Regions from separate parts of the Homo sapiens genome. Here region 2 is linked to region 1. Evidence: promoter capture Hi-C in human tissues and cell types (Jung and others, 2019). All regions are on one chromosome and are shown on one strand. The core of a region is centred on a gene start or on the middle of the fragment in contact, and the rest is flanking DNA. Distances in the headings are between cores, read along the strand shown. Region 1 holds the start of AMOTL2 (angiomotin like 2). Region 2 has its middle 29 kb from the start of MIR4788.

Region 1 (4,983 bases), core at 1,153-3,652:
TAGGCGAAAGGCCTCTAGGACCCTCTAGACTGAGGCATGCCAGAGTCCAGCCTTGGTACAGTCAACCTACCACCCTCTAGACTGAGGCATCCCAGAGCCTTGGCACAGTCAACCTACCACCCTCTAGCCCGCTGAACCCCTGGCCACTTTTCCCACTCTCCCTGAACCAGAGAACTCCTGGAGGATGGGCTTGGGCTCTGCTTCATCAAGCGCTGCTGACAGAATGAATCTGGGGCTCCCTGTCATGGGATGACCTTGGCAGTCATTCTGCAAGGTGAACAGGAAGAAGGAGTAATTGCACCTGAATTGGTGAATAAAGGATGAATAAAAATGCTTCAAGAGGACAATGGTTTTGTAAGATGAGGCAAAAAGGTGCCACCCATTAAGGTTAGTGGGTCAGTCTTTTGTGCTGACAGTAACTGCAAGAGAGCTCCAGGAAAAAGGAAGGATGGCATGATGTCTTTGATTTTATGATTATCCTCCCCAACACACACACACACACACACACACACAAACACACACACACGCTACTTGGAAAAGCCCCCACTGGTCCTCTAGGCACATAAGGGATGGGCACTCAGCATCTTTCTTGACATCAGTGTCAAGGAAGCCCATCTTGACTTGGGCCAACTGGAGAAGTAAGGGGAGGCTGTTGGTTGAGAGACCTGGGGCAGGGGAGAGGGGACTGTGAGCCTAAAGTGCTGGGAGATTATATCGGAGAAAGGAGTTCCCTTCTAAGCCTGGGCTCCCAGTGGTTCATGGACTGGAAATCTGCCTGCCTCTCTCACCCAGCTTCCTTTCCACAGCCTCTTCCAACACAAATCTCCAAACTGGGATCCAGGGAAAACTAAACAGAATCCACACTGCCACAGGTCCTGTGTGTATGGGCAGGGGTTGGGGGGGTGGGTGGGAGGAATGTGGCCCCTCCTCTGCCACTAAACTAGCCCTAGTGTCCTGCTTCAGTTTGGGCTATGGCATGTTGGCAGAGCAGCCATTCCCGATCTTTTCCCTCTCCCCACCCCAGTACTCCAGCTGCCCAGAGCTGGGGAGTGGGGGATGAGTCTGGAGGGCACCTCTGTACCCATCCTTCCTGGCACCCAGTCATGCGCCCCCCACACACAACGAGGGGTAGATGTGCAAGACTCCAGAGCTACCCGAGGCAAAGCAAGCAAATGGGATTCAATTCGTATGGGATTCAGTTCGCCCTGGAGTTTTATCTGCGGGCATTTCCTATGATAATCACTCTCTGGGCCGACTCCCACAGAGAAGGCAGGGGAGCGGCAGGAAGGAATGCGGAGCCTTCCTGACAGATTCCAGGCGCTCCATAGTGTGCCCGGACTGGGAGCAAGGAACATCTCCAAGGCCTCTCATCGCGAATTTGTCCCGGCCAAGCCCCTCAGATTCACGTCCTTTCAGACATCAAACGCCTGGGCCTTTACAAAAACCTGCTTCCGCGCCCCCGGCCGCGAACCTCTGCTGCACTCGCCCGCTGCGCTCTCTGAAGGCCGCCTTTCTAAGCCAGCGCGCGTCTCCAGCCTTGGCCTGGGCTCCTGCTCGCCTAAGGAACCAAAGACAGTCTCCAAGCTAGGAGGTTCTGGCACCCCAGCCAGGGCTCCCGCCCCACCACGAGCCCGGGCGGACCTGGAGCACCGGTGGCCGCTGGTACGCCTGGGGCGAGCCGGTGAGGGTAGCCCGAGGCCCGGAGAGGTCTTTAAGCATCGCGGGTCCGCCTCCCTCCCTCTCGAGCCCTCTTTGTTTTCCAAATACTCTAACGCTGACGTCACCGGGCTGGACAGCAGGCTGCATTCTTTCTAAGTGAGGGCCAATTCGTGGCTCCAGAGAGGATTTTCCAAGGAAGACAAAGAGGAATTCTTGGACTAGTTGGGGGCAAAGGCACCTGTAACCCCCACCTAACCAAATCAGCCCGCAGGACCCTGCAACTTGAGCTCCAAGCGGCGCCTCCATCCCTGTCCCCCGCCACCCCCACCCCCGCCGACCTGCAACCCGAAACACTGTGGCTGTTGTCTCCGGAGTCGGCCCTCTCCCCTCTCCCCCAGCCCCAAGAGACCCGCGCGTTTCTAGAGCCCCGCAAAGCCCAGCGCGCTGCGCTCCCTGGGCAGAGCGGCCCTTGCCAGGCACTGCGGCTGCCTCGAAAGGGCGCACTGCGCCCCGAGGACGCTCGATCCTCGAGGCTCCGACTCCCGGAAAAGGCCGGGTTGCGCCGAGACTCCAGCTTTGGCTGGGGCACGTTTCTGTGGCCTCGCGCGCTCTCCCGAGCGCCGAGCGGCCTTCCTTACCGCTGCGGCCCGAGGGTGCCCAGCGCAGTCAGACACCACAACCTCCGGCTCGGCCCAGCTCAGCTCGGCGGCGAAGATGTGTTCTCGGCCGTGGCGCCGACGCTCTGGCTGTTCGCGCCCCAGCGCGCAGCCCCAGGGTCGGCCCGCGCCGGAGGCGGCTGCTATGCCAGGAATGTGAGAGTTTCAGGTTCCCCCTCGGGATCAAAGCGAACCACAAATAACCTCTCAGCGCACCGCCCTCCTCCGCCCTCCGCCTTCTCCCGCTCCCTCCTCCCGGCCCCCGCCTTCCTCCGGGGAGGCGGCGCTGCTGGCCGAGCGCCGGCCCGGCCCCCGAGCTCCGTTCCTCCGCGCCCAGCGCCCTCCAGGCCGCGGTGTGTCCGCCCCTGCCCCATGCTTTGCCTTCGGAGCTGCTGGAGACAATTTAATCCAACTCTGCCCATTATCGCCTCCACTCCCAGTCGCCGACCCGCTCTCACCCTTCATCCCTAAACCCATCGACGGGACGACAGCAAGGGCTGTACCACGCGTGTCCTGGGGTTGCTGCGGGAGGGGACTCCGGCTGTGTGTGTGTGTGTGTGTGTGTGTGCGTGTGTGTGTACCGGGGGAGGTGGGAAAGGGAGGAGGGACTGCAAAGACATCCATATCCTCTGGGCTGGGACAGTGCCCCGGGCTAAGTGAATGCTTCCAGCCACAGAGCCTCTTTCCCCTAACCCCCGCTGTTTTCACCCCCAGCGGCAACCTTTGAATGCACTTTTGTTTACAAACACCTTCGCCAGCTATTTTACGACCGTCTCGACAGGAAGTGTGAATCTGGGTTGGAAAATCCGGTCAATTTGACCCACCTACCCAACTGAATCACCCGCCGCCAGGCGCTCTGTCCAGTTCTTCCCCAAGGTGATAATAGGCGCCCCTTTACGCAGAGTGCAAGGTGTGCCACCGCTGGCTTTTCGCCCAGTCATCCGATTCAGCCCTGCCAAGCACCCTCCAACGGAGTTCTGTTATCATCCCTGTGTTGTAAATGAGGACACCAGGGCTCAGAGAGCTTAAGCAGCGTGCCCAGAGTCACACACAGTGAGAACCAGGTAATCAACCACTGGGCTGCTTGGTTTCTCATTCTCAAAACCCCTCCCTGGCTATCAGAATCCAGGCTCCCTAGATGGACAGGGCAGACACTGGGAGCCCTCCTCTCTCCACTTACCCTGTCCTTGCTTTAGTCTCTTCTTTACCTCCCCCTACACCCCTGCCAGCCAGGGGCTTTCCCCTGTACCCACTTCTGTGGCTCCTGCATGGAATCCTCTCCTCTGCCCCCAGGACACTTCCACTGCTAGATGGAAACCCCTTCTTCAGAAAGCTCGCTCTGACACATGCTGTCCCCGTTCCCCATCACACAAGCCCTCTCTACAAGTCAGTTGGGGTGAGGTGGGGGCAGTCAGGCCCCTGTCCACCCAGAGAGTCAGGGCTGATTTCTACCCCTGGCTGGGTCCTCCCATCAGCATGGAGTTTGCAAGTCCCAAATTCACTGGAGGGAAACAAGGACAAGGAAATTCTGCAAGCTTAATTGCCAGGGACATTGTTAATTTTTAATAAAACTCACAAAAAGTGTGTGTGTGTGTGCGCACGTGTGTGTTTTACTTGGAAGTCAAATACTGTGTTTCAAACAGTGATTGGATCTGAGATGATTGAGCAAATGGATCATTTGTGCCAAGCTACGGGATATTTGTCTTTCCAAGGATCCCCTTACGAAGAGAAGCTGTGATCAGTATACCACTGTAGGTAGGAATTTTAGAAGTGAAAGGAAAGAGGTCTCTGAGTGGCCTTACCTTATGGACAGCATAATTGGTGGAGGCAGGGGAGTGGTTGTGGACATGTGCACTCGGGTTGTAAAACCAGGGGAAAGACCACATGGTACAGTCCTGTCTTTCAGGCATTTGGGAGGATACCTGACAAAATGTTTGACAAATATTCTTGAGATGGTTGCAGAAAGGCGTCAGTTCAAGGCAGCTAGGGTGAAGGAGGTACATCTTGGAGTGGACAAGCCTGCTGCAGAGCCACACAGGCCCCCATGATTGCTAATTTCTGTCCCCAAAGGGACAGAAGCGGGAGAGGGATCCCAAAACCTAAATGAGAAATGTGCATGTACTTTTATTTTTCCTTTCCCTTTCTCTCTGCAGAAAGAACAGAAGGCAAGATCTGTCAGGCATGGCCTGCGGTGGAGCCTACCTAAGCTGGCGGCCACCCCAGCTCTGCAGGATAGTTGGTGGAGAAGGTGACCACTGTTCAGATGTGCCAGAGGCAGATGTGCACAGGGGACACTGGGCCGGCCAGCCTGCTTGCATATGAATCTTCACCTACAGCAGAGGGGAGAGAGGCTCTCTTAGTGAGCCAATGCTTTCTTCTTCCACCTTTGTCTCAATCTACTTTGTCCCATTCTCCTTTACCTCCTCTCTTCCTCCTACAGGTTATGATTCTTCCCAGATGACAATGTGGCTGGCTGGGTCAGGAATCCTATCCAGGAAAGATGCGGAGGTGACCTAATTCTCAGAGTAAGCCAGGCTGGAGGCCTTTGCTCTAGGAAGTGTAGCTCCTTGGGGTGTGGCTGCATCATAGGTGTGTACAGGGCTTAGCAAGGGATCCAGGCACCCACACCATCGCCTCTCCTTAGCCCCGGTCTGGGTCTGTGCCTGTT
Region 2 (4,668 bases), core at 1,307-3,806, 35 kb after region 1:
GGACGCCAGGCGCGGCTGCTTACAATGGCTCTCAGACGACAGATGGCGGGCAGGAAGGGAGGGGGCGCCGGGCAGGTGCGCGGGGGAGACGCGCCGCGGCAGCGCCGGACGCCAGGCTGCAGGGTGAATAGATTTGCAGCCCGCCGGCTGCAGGCGGCGGCCGCCGAGCCCTGCAAACAATAAGTGAATTCTCCGAAGCGACTGAAACCCCCCGGGCTGGGCCACGCGCCAGCCGGGGAGGGCGGACCATTGTGCTGCGCAGGCTGAAGCTGGCCCATTCCGTTGCGCGCGGAGCCCCCAAGGGCCCTGGGCCCGTGTCGGGGGCCAAAACCGAGTGTGCGATCGGGTACACAGCAGACTTTAGAAAGAAGTGGCGTCTGGTGTTGACTGATGAGCTCAATATCATAAGCCACCCGGGTCTGGGAGACCCAAGCGGGGCAGGCACTTAGAGTCCTGAGTCGGAGTTGGGAGCGAGAGCTGCAGCCCTGCCCTGCCACTCGGCAGGAGGGGTGGGGTGGGGGGCAGTCGGTGGGCTCCCTGAGCTGCTATGGAGAGGGCTCACCTTCACCACGTCCCTCTGGTTGTCAGGCTTTTACAACTACTGTGATGGGCTGTATCCCCTCTTTGTGCTTGATGTTTTATTTTAAACGAAATGAGTCAGAACTGGTAAGGCCGGTGGCCTGAAAGCAAGCCCTTTCTGATCATCCCTCTGGCCTGAAGCTTTCCTGAGGCCAGGAAGGCATTCTTGGGAGTCCTCAGTTAAGTGTAGTGTTGGGCCCTTAGGGAAATCATCTGCATCTTCTGGAGACATTGAGCAACTGGGCGAGTCCACTGCAGATGGAGGCAAGACCTCCCGGCACAAAGTGCCAGACTGTGTGTTGCTGAAGAGCCAATGGCAGCCCGAGTGACCAGGGCTGTGAATGTTGAAGGTCTGTGTGTGTCTGTGGCTTTGAGAAGAATAGGTGTGCTAGATGGGCCTTTAAGAAGTGCCACAGTGACCTTCCTCCCCTCACCCACACATTGTTGTGTAAATACTACACAACAAAGGAAACAAACATGCGGGGCTCTTATTTGGGGAGTAATACCCTCTAGTAAAGGCAGATTGGGCTCCAGACCCTCGCTCACCCAGATGCCTTTATGGAGGGGTTGCCTCCTGCAAGGAATCCCTTATCGTGGCTGCAATTCCTGTCCTGCCTTTCTCTAATAGCCCCATGGCTTTGTGTCCTTGCAATTGCTCAGCCGGACTGTTTCTAAAACATTATATGGTAACTCCTGCCTCCTTGTTTTTTTTAAATTATCTGTCTCTCTTCTGAGGTCTCTCCATGCCTATGCTATACATATGATATAGAGGTATGGCTTGTATAACCATGAAGAAGTCATTAAAACCAGTCATTTAACTAGTTTAATCATGATTATCATTCCTCCTTTTTTTCTTTAAAGCGATGCGTCACACCCTGTTAGGAGAAGATTCTGGTAACTCTGCTGTGAAGAGTAATAGAACACCAGAGTTGGAAGGGAAATTTCACATTTTTCTGGTGCAGTGTTTTCAGACTTTGTCATTCAAACATCACCTTTGTGAGTTCTGTAACATCAGGTACCACCTGTAATATTATTAATACTTTTCCATAAATCCAATTTTATACGTAAATTTCATTTTTAAAAAGTCACTTTAGAGGTGATTCTGGGGACATGGTAACTGGAATATGGTTTCCTTTCTTTCCACTTCCAAATGAATTTCTGTTCCTCTCAAGATAAACGGTTGTCGGAAACAGTAGAAAGAACAGAACTGGTAGTTCTTCCCCATCAGATCTGCAAATACTGAGGAGTCTCAAAGTAAAGTCTGAGAAGTGAGTGCTGGAGAGAGCTTGGACCCCAGAGACCAATGGAAGGTTAACATTGCACTAGATGAAGATACCTGGTCCCCTGCGCCCCATCCCAGAACTAAGAAGTTGTTGAACCAGGGGGCTAAGTTCCCTAGTTCCTGAGGTTGGGAGACCCTACAGAGCCCAGGTCAGAGAAGCCTTTTCCAGGTGCCTGCACAGGAGATGGGCAGTATCCCCGCATCTCTACATAGGACGGAGCTTTTCCCCTCCTTTTCCTCAATAGAACATCTGTCCTTTAGGGTGTTCCCATCCTCAGACCTGAACCCAGTGAGCTGGCAAAGAGAGGGCAGTCAGAAGGGACAAGCAAAACACACACCCAGTGACACAGTGGCTGAAAGAGACAGATGACAACATGAATTTAAAAAACAATTTTAAAAAGCCCCTGTAGATATGTAAATAGAGAAAAAAAAAAGACTTTACGAAGCTGTAAAAAAAATGTGATTTCCCAACTAAACAACTCATCAGATGACTTGAAAGAGAAAACGGTCACTACAATTGAGAGAGATGATTGGGATGGGAAATCAAGGTCAGCACTCAAGGGCACCTTAAAGCACAGAACAAAGATACAGAGATGTAAATTAGGGAAAAGATCAGTCTAGCAGGGTAGATCTAATGACCCAACATGCATGAATGGTAAGACTTCCAAAGGAGAAAAAGGAAGACATGAAAGAAATAATAAGCATAACAATAATTTTTAAAACCACCATTGTCCTGAGGCAAAGAAAGATGTGAGACTAAAGATGGGAGATTGAAAGAACTTGTTGATTTTCAGGCTGAATGGATAAGAAATGACCTAGACCTATTTCTAAACTCTAAGGATAAAGAGAAAACTGTTACAACATCCAGATAATTACTTTAACTTACCTAAAAAGAGAAAAGAATCAGACTGGCGTTAGACTTCCCTTCCAGTACTAGAAACTAGAGACCAGTGAAATAGACTCTATAGGACCACACCTGATCAAGTGATTCACTTGTTACGGAAAAAGAAAAATATTGAGGCTAATGTTATTTCATGAAAATATTCAAGAAAAGGTGTTCCCCCAGAATAAATGAACCAACCGAGAATAAACTGGAAAAGTAGAATGGAATTTTCAAATTAACAAGGGGAAAAATAGAAGCCAGCAAAAATAAGAAAAAGCAAAAAGAGGGAAGAAAACAATTACTGCCCATCCTTATTATTCTAGGATTCTGCATTTGTGAATACACCTACTCACTAAATTTTATTTGTAACCCTAAAAATCAATACTTGGAGAGCACTCATGATCATTTGTGGACATACACAAGAGCAGCGAAAAATTTGAGTCACTCAACAGGCACTTTCCCAGCTGAGGTTGAACAAGGCAATGCTCCACCTTCTTGTTTCACTTCTCATGCTGTAAATGACAGTTCTTTTCTCAGACTGCTTAGTGTCATCTTTGTGTGTTTTTTGCTGGTGACTTCTGTGAAAATTGATTATATAAACTGAGTCACTCTTGTCATATGCAACTATTAGGTTGGTGCAAAAATAATTGCTGTTTTTGCCATCACTTTTAATGGCTAAAGCAGCAATTACTTTTGCACCAACTTAATACATCAGCGTTGAGGGGCTGGGGGGAAAAGCACTAATAATTGCACATAGCACCAGCTCTAATAGTTGAATTTGCTGCAAGTCCAGTTGCTGAAATAGCCTGTAGTAACTCTAAGACGAGTTTTACCTAGTAGCTGCTGAAACAACCTGTCTTGACTCAAAGATTTGTTTTATCTGCCTCCTTCACTCACCCATCAGAGCTTGCCAGTTCCCAAAAGCTTCTCTAGCAATGAGCTGTTTTCAAAACAGTAGGTATCATGGCTTTTTCTAGTAAGACCCCCAAACTTCCGTTTGTTTTTCAGACATACTGAAGGCCATCCCAGTCTGTGCGTATGCTCTGAATTGCAATTCTGTGCTTCCTAAATAAAACGCTGAATTTAAAGATTCATTGCTATGTTTTATTTTGACTTTCACATCTCCTTAAAAATGGCCCCCAAGTGTAGTGCTGAGGTGCTGTCTAGTGTTCCTGTGTGCAAGAGGCTGTGATGAGCCACGTGGAGAAAACACACATGTTAGACAAACTTTGTTCAGGCATATGTTGCAGTGCTGTTGGCTGTGAGTTCAATGTTAACAAGTCAATGATATATATTAAATAAGGTGTCTTTAAGCAGAAACACACCCACGACAAAGTTACGCATTAATTGGTTGATGAAATGTAACCCAGAGAGTCACAGAAACCTAACCCTCTATTTCTCCTAGGAGGAATGGTTCAACATTCACTATTTAGCATTTTCAGTGACTCTGTAAAACAAAACCGCTGTGAATAATGACAAGCGGCTGTCTTAATACACATAAAGTAGGATGGAAGGAAGATTATTCAGTAAATTAACTACGTCCTTAAATGTGGCTGAACTAAATACTTCAGTTTTTTTAAGGCCTTATAATGTTTACAAGAAATATCTAACACGATGTGATGATAAAATGGTTAAAAATAAGAGTGTCTATAAAGAGGTATCTTTTTGATAACTTTTTTTAGACAAAAGAATGTAATAGACAATTAATCGGCAATATTAATCAGACAAGTTGGAATTTAAGGCTAAAAGCATAAAAAGATTAAGGAGGGAAATTGTGACATGAATAGAGCATAATAAACATAAACTGGTGTGCAACAGACAGCATAGCAAGCAGCTAAATAGATAAAAAAAGATACGACTACTAAGTGTGATAAAAACACAGATATATAGAGAGAATTTTAATACAATTCTCATAACTAAAGGG

Evidence for each region. Contacts are between HindIII fragments. The study calls those that stand out against the background at their distance.
Region 2: a contact is called between a fragment that was not itself captured here and the fragment with the promoter of AMOTL2 in region 1, in 3 of the 25 tissues and cell types used here (hippocampus, neural progenitor cells and psoas muscle).

Annotation. Positions count from the first base shown.
Region 1 is chr3:134,372,045-134,377,027 of GRCh38, forward strand. It overlaps AMOTL2 (angiomotin like 2), which reads right to left and starts at 2,403. Exons shown (of 10, transcript NM_016201.4): 1 at 2,298-2,403. RefSeq lists enhancers at 1,663-2,462, 2,463-3,262, 3,263-4,060. The HindIII fragment of the contact is 13,073 bases long and covers 1-4,983 here.
Region 2 is chr3:134,406,685-134,411,352 of GRCh38, forward strand. No RefSeq gene overlaps it. Among named protein-coding and RNA genes, the nearest start is that of MIR4788, 29 kb to the right of the region's middle. RefSeq lists an enhancer at 558-1,263. The HindIII fragment of the contact is 5,326 bases long and covers 1-4,668 here.